Regions from separate parts of the Homo sapiens genome. Here region 1 is linked to region 2. The links are contacts of gene promoters, found by promoter capture Hi-C in blood cells and fetal thymus (Javierre and others, 2016). All regions are on one chromosome and are shown on one strand. Each heading gives the region's core, a stretch centred on a gene start or on the middle of the fragment in contact. The rest is flanking DNA. Distances are from core to core; before and after follow the strand shown. Region 1 overlaps LOC105370941 (a long non-coding RNA gene). Region 2 holds the start of PAK6-AS1 (PAK6 antisense RNA 1).

Region 1 (2,946 bases), core at 122-2,621, 470 kb before region 2:
TTTTGCAGTGCTTAACTGCACAGAGCATTAGAATCACCTGGGGAGACTTCATAAACTACACAACCAGGGGTGTACCTGAGATCAAATGAATCTAGGCCTTCTCAACTTTAATGTGCAGACAAATCACCGAGGAATCTTGTTAAAAATGCTGATTCAAAAAAAAAAATGTTGATTCAGTATCAGGTGAGACCTGAGACTAACAGGCTCCTAGATGATGCCAATGCTCCCCGTCCACCGACCGCTGTTTACCTAGCGGCAAGACGAGATCATTGCCAAGTGCCTGCACGGTTCTCATACACCATAAACGAAGGCCATTCTTTCCAGTTTTTAATTTGGTGACTAATAGTGTCCACTAAGAAAACAATACCTTCCCAATTTCTCGGGGGGGGAAGGGGCTGAACTAAGAAAAAGCGGACCTATGATTACTGCTGTTTTCATTTTTTTAACTGTTGTTTTTAAAATGCAACATAAGATGCATATAAAGCAAGTGAAAATAAAATTCGGGTTCCACGTAAACTTTGTGTCTCTTCACTGTTTGTAACCTTTCCAGACTAAGTCCCTATTGACTATATTTGCATAAAACTATTTATCTCATTTTGAATTGTTTTGTCTCTGTGTCACTCTCACGTGTTTATTTACCTCCTGCTGCTTCCATTTTGTAAACTGCCGAGAGGCTGTGTGTGCCTTAAGGGCCAGCTTTAATAAATTGCATTTGTTGTGTATTTGTTTTTAATTTCCCCAGATACTTCTGTGTCAGCTATTGCAGGTGACACCCTCAAAACAGCACGGGGATATAAGTCCGAGAGCACCAAATGTCTATACTGTGTTTTCTGCAGTTCCATTTTCAAAAATCGCAAACACATCCTGGAAAGTGTTGTGCCCTTCAAAGTCATTCATAAAAATTTCTTCTAGAGTCAAGATATTTGAAGCTAAAATTTCCCTGGTCTCATTCCAGGTTGGTGACATATGGCAGTGGCAGTGTTAGTTTCGGAGTTAGCTTTTGTTTTTGTTTGCAGTCTCTCCCTACTCTTGACATCCTCCTTCCGAGTGGAGTCAGATTTGAATGAATGAAAGCGAGCAAGAGCATTGTTTGCCATCTGGGCACCAACTACCATTTCAGCCTTGTTGCCCCGGTTGCCCTTTCCTCACCATAAACTTCAACCGAATGTAACAATATGGTAGGAGAGGGATCTCATTAAGCCTCATATCGTAGATTCTACACACTGGATTTTGTGTATAATAGCCATTCCTACTGGAGAGCAGATAATAGTGTTTACCACTGGATAGTTCCCATGTCCTGTGAATCTATGCTTAGTGTTATTGAAAAACTGCATTTACAAAGTGTTTCAGACTTGCCTTCCAAGCATCATTTCACTTCATTCATAACATTCTATGAGTCGGCACTAGTATTACCTGGATTTAGAGTTGAGAAGCAGAGCACCTAAAGGGTAAGTAATTGTCCCAAGGTCGTTGGGGAACTAACTGGCACCGGGATTCCAACCTAGGTTCCAAAGCCTGCCCTCCATCTCCTCAGGGGTCCGAATTCTAGAAGAGGAGATATTTGTGTCCACTAGATGGTGCTGATTGTCCTCTTAAAAAAAAAAATTGGCAGCCACTTTCAGAAACACGTTCCTTTGGATTTTAGGTGTAATTCAAGAAACCACTGAACTGAAGTATCTTGTATGTCTGAATTGTGCCTGGATGCATCTTTAAATAGCCACCCAAATAGGAAAAGTGAAAATTTGATCTCAAAAAAACTGCATTTTTTAAAATGTTAGTACCTATAAATAATATCAAAAAACCATGGTGACTTTGAGACTCTGAAAATTCTCATACATCTGTATTTACATTAAATCAGTAGACTTAAGAAGAAATACATGTTTTATTCCATGTACCCCTTTTATACCAACTGTACTCCCTCCAGCATCTCCCAATCCTGCTTGGCCACAATGCCATCCATGCCAGCAAGGGTCATGAACAGGGAAGTAAATAAAGCCTGAAAAAAACAACAATCAGATTCTGGAACAGGTAACACTTTTTTCTTTTTCTTTTTTTTTTTTTTTTTTGAGATAAAGTCATGCTCTTTCACCCAGGCTGGAGTGCAGTAGCACAATGATCATGGCTCACTGCAGCCTCAACTTCCCAGGTTCAAGCAACCTCCCACCTCAGCCTCATGAGTAGCTGGGACTACAGGCATGCAACACCATGCCCGGTTGAATTTTTTTTTTTTTTTTTGTAGAGGTGAGGTCTCCCTATGTTGCCCAGGCTTAATGCTATTATTATTGAAAGTAAAATACATGTTAAGTATATGTTTCATATGTGCTTAGTACCTTATTTTAGTACATTTTTTAGAACTTAAAAGCTGTGAAATAAACCCGATTCAAATGGGTTGTCAGATTTTGTTGTTGAGAAGGATCAGTTCAGGTGTTATTTAAAATATTGATTCTAGTCCCTATTACATGATTCAGTGGGTCTGGAATGCAGACCAGGAATCTGCATTTTTAACAAGTCCCTTGGTGCTTGTGGTACAGATGAACCACTGACTTCAAGTTAATGTTTTAGAGGGTAAATAGTGGTGAGGACATTGCTCCTGGAGGCACCATGGAGCCCCCTGCAGCTGTTCTACACGGAGGCTGTGAACAGTGACATCCAGCACTTCCTTTGTAAACAGCAGGCTAGAGACTGAAAAATGCTCTCCCTGTAGAACTCTTTCCCTCCTCTCCCTGTCTGCTGTGGAGTGCTGCACAGAATTAGCTGCTGGTCAGTGGATGTCTCCATTTTTTAAAAGATCAAGCTTACAACTTCTCAATGCCTATTGGTCCAAAAACAGTGATGACTTTAGGTTTGTTTTCAGTTAAAGAAGTTAGATCATGTATTGTCATATAACTATTCAACTGGCTCGAGCGATCCGAATGTCAACCTAGGGGGCCACAAACTTCCAGGACA
Region 2 (2,803 bases), core at 285-2,784:
TTGTGTGAAACCAATACAGCCTATAATGCAAAAGATTGAGCCGTGAGTAGATTGATGCGTCTAAAGAATCAGTGAACAAAAATAAGTGGCCATAGTGACCTCAGTTAATCATTGAAGTCTGAGGTGCCCAACAATGATTTTTAAAATCCCTGCACTGTCCTTGGTCCCCGCTCTGTGACACTGGCAGTCACCCAGCCACCACTTGACGGCAGCCATTTGGAGTCCACATGTACTGAGTTTCCAAGCCAGAACTTCCTCAGCACTCAGCCAGAACACAGCCTTTCTCTGGGGGCCCAAGACAAGGAGAGCAAAGGTCTTCTCACTTCTTTATCTGGGGAAGAGATGAGTGATTCCTGTCCCTTCCCCCAGTATAGAAAACACCCTGTACCCCAAAAGAAACATGGCACAGGGGCAGCCAGGAGTGAGCCCCTTGGAATGGCCATTCTGATCTTAGGCAGGGACTGCTGAGGACAAGCAGAGGATGCCGACTCTGGGACAAAATCACAGGCGGAGGGGCTCCGAAACAGGCCCTAGCCGCTCTGGGGGTGCGGGTCTCCTGCCCTAGGACTCTCAGGCTAGAAAGTCCTCAGGACTCAGGACTGCGCAAGGGCTGACAAGGGAACTGGAATCCCTTAAATCCCGCTTTCCTGCCTGCGCAAGGGGCTACCCCAGCACAGTCTTGGGGCCCTGTCCACATGGGACAGATCATCCAAGGTGACAGGTTTTCCGACTCCCGCGTGGGCTCTCCAGGATGTGTGGGTGGGCACACGCGGCCCGCTCAGGTCCGGGAGAGTCGGCCCGCGGCTCTGGAGCGTGCATCTGCGATGCCAGTGAACGAGGTGATTACACACAGCCGGCGCTCAGCTGATTCTCCAGGTCGGGTCTCCGCGAGGCGGCCACTGGGCCGTGGAGCCGCAGGCAGGTCCCCGCGGCTGTGGCCAGGCCAGGGCCCGGAGGCGAAGGGCGGGCGGGAACTGGGGCCAAGCAGGTGGAGAGAAAGAGTTGAGCAGCACGGCGCCCCTCGGGCAGAGGGGCTCCTGGCCAAGGCCCCAGCGACACTTGGCAACTTCTCCCGCGCTCTGGGTTCGCCGCCGCGTCCTACCTGAGGCCACACCCTGAAATCAAAATCGCGGTCAGGTGAAGCCGGCGCTGCACCAACGTGTAAGCGCGGCCCCTCCTCGGCGTTCCCGCGCCGAGGTCCCTCCCGCGGAGGGCGGGCCCGGCTCCCACGACCTCTTCGAGCGTTCCTGGGCTTCCCGCTCCGCAGGTGGGTTCCCCGGCTGCCCCGGAGGTTCGCGGCGAGAGGACGGGCCTCCCAACACGCGCAGCCCCCTTCCTGGGTGCCCATGCCCCGAAGTTCGGGACCAGCCGGCGCCAGGCGAGGGGCCTTGGGCGCAGGCATCTGGAGCTCCGCGTCCCTGGAGCGGGACCTCCCTCCGCGGGCGCCCGCCCGGCGCGGGGCATTCGCGTCCCCGAGAGGGCGCAGCAGTGGGGCCTGCGAGCTGGGGCCGGGTGGCCGCGCCGGGTCGGAGTGTGGCTGGAGAGGGGCCGCCCCGGAAGCGGTGCTGCGCCCAACGTCCCCTTCTCCCCGTAAGCCCCGCAAGGAGCCTGCCGCCTCTTGCACCTGAGCCAGGAGTTCAGTCGGGAGGCGGGCGCGGAGCGGTTCCCAGCGCCTGGACGTCAGCCAGTCGCAACACCCGCGGGAACACTTGCTACATTTGCCATAATGCATTTCTGATCTGTTTCCGCGCAGGCCTGCGGAGGACTGGCCCAGCAAGGTCCCAGGTCTTCCCTCTCCTCAGCGCCTAAGAGAGAGGCCCAGTGCGGGTGAGGAGTCGCGAGGAAGAGGCGGAAGGCGCCGGAAGGTGAGTGAGCGAGCGGCCCCCGGCCCTAGAGCCTTCTGCACCCATTTTGAAGAGCAGGCAGGGAGGGACAGTGGGCAGGCAGGTGGCCCTCCTGGGCTGGCTCCTTCCTGGTACTGCTAGGCAGCGGAGGTGGTCCCTTCCAGGTGCCGTCTCTCGATCCTTAGTGGGTGCATGTTAAGTCACTTACACCACTTTGCCCCATGGCCCCACGGTAGGCTGGTAGACGTCAAGACCTCAAATGGCCCGCCCTGCCCCCGGGCCCATCTTCAGGTCTGATGCCTGTCCTGGGTGAGGGTGTCACCGCGGCAGAGTGCAGGGAATTCATGCCGGGGAAGAGGTTCCCAAACAGGAAGGGTGGTGGCAGGCCCAGTGGCTGTGCAGGGCAGGGTGGGAGGCAGCCGTGGGAGACTCCCGCAGGAGTTACAGGTGAAGCTGCCGCTCCACACATCCCAGCCCACCGCTCATTCCCCAGATCTCCAGACCTGCTCAGGTGGCATCCGATCTGGAGTGTAGGTGCTGCTGGGAGCACTGGAGGCTAAGCCATGAAGAGCTCCCAGGGTGTAGGTTGCGTTTTCTGTATCTTGCCCCATTCTGGTGGTTTTTTGGGGGCTTTTCTGACTTGTTTTTCTGGGTGAAGGGGGCAGAGGGGCTCAGGTCTGTGTCCATGCTCGTTTTTGGTGGCCGGTGTGGCATAGGTTGCCGCATTGGATAAGAAAACGCCTGGTTCCATGCAAGGTGAGGTTCAGCCTGCAGTGCCATGAATTCTCCTCCATAGTATATAGGACAGTGGCCGAAGACACATTTGGAACCGAAGAGAGTGGGGTTTGAATCTATCCAGACTTTGCCTTTGACTCCTTAGACAAGTTGCTTCACTTCTCTACAAACTTATAAATGGCCTCATCTGTAAAATGGGAATGCGAATGCCTTCCTCCTCATTA

Evidence for each region. Contacts are between HindIII fragments. The CHiCAGO score rates a contact against its expected background, and 5 or more counts as called.
Region 1: a contact is called between a fragment that was not itself captured here and the fragment with the promoter of PAK6-AS1 in region 2, in 4 of 17 cell types (total B cells, naive B cells, naive CD4 T cells and 1 more). The highest score is 11.7, in total B cells.

What each region holds. Positions count from the first base shown.
Region 1 is chr15:39,785,102-39,788,047 of GRCh38, forward strand. LOC105370941 (a long non-coding RNA gene) reads left to right here. Exons shown (of 1, transcript NR_135665.1): 1 at 1-516. Among named protein-coding and RNA genes, the nearest start is that of FSIP1, 3.7 kb to the left of the region's middle. The HindIII fragment of the contact is 2,841 bases long and covers 1-2,792 here.
Region 2 is chr15:40,251,425-40,254,227 of GRCh38, forward strand. It overlaps PAK6-AS1 (PAK6 antisense RNA 1), which reads right to left and starts at 1,535. Exons shown (of 2, transcript NR_168270.1): 1 at 1,234-1,535; 2 at 1-1,115. BUB1B-PAK6 (BUB1B-PAK6 readthrough) reads left to right here. Exons shown (of 10, transcript NM_001128629.3): 2 at 1,754-1,865. PAK6 (p21 (RAC1) activated kinase 6) reads left to right here. Exons shown (of 11, transcript NM_001395430.1): 3 at 1,754-1,865. RefSeq lists a silencer at 1,517-1,606. The HindIII fragment of the contact is 18,506 bases long and covers 1-2,803 here.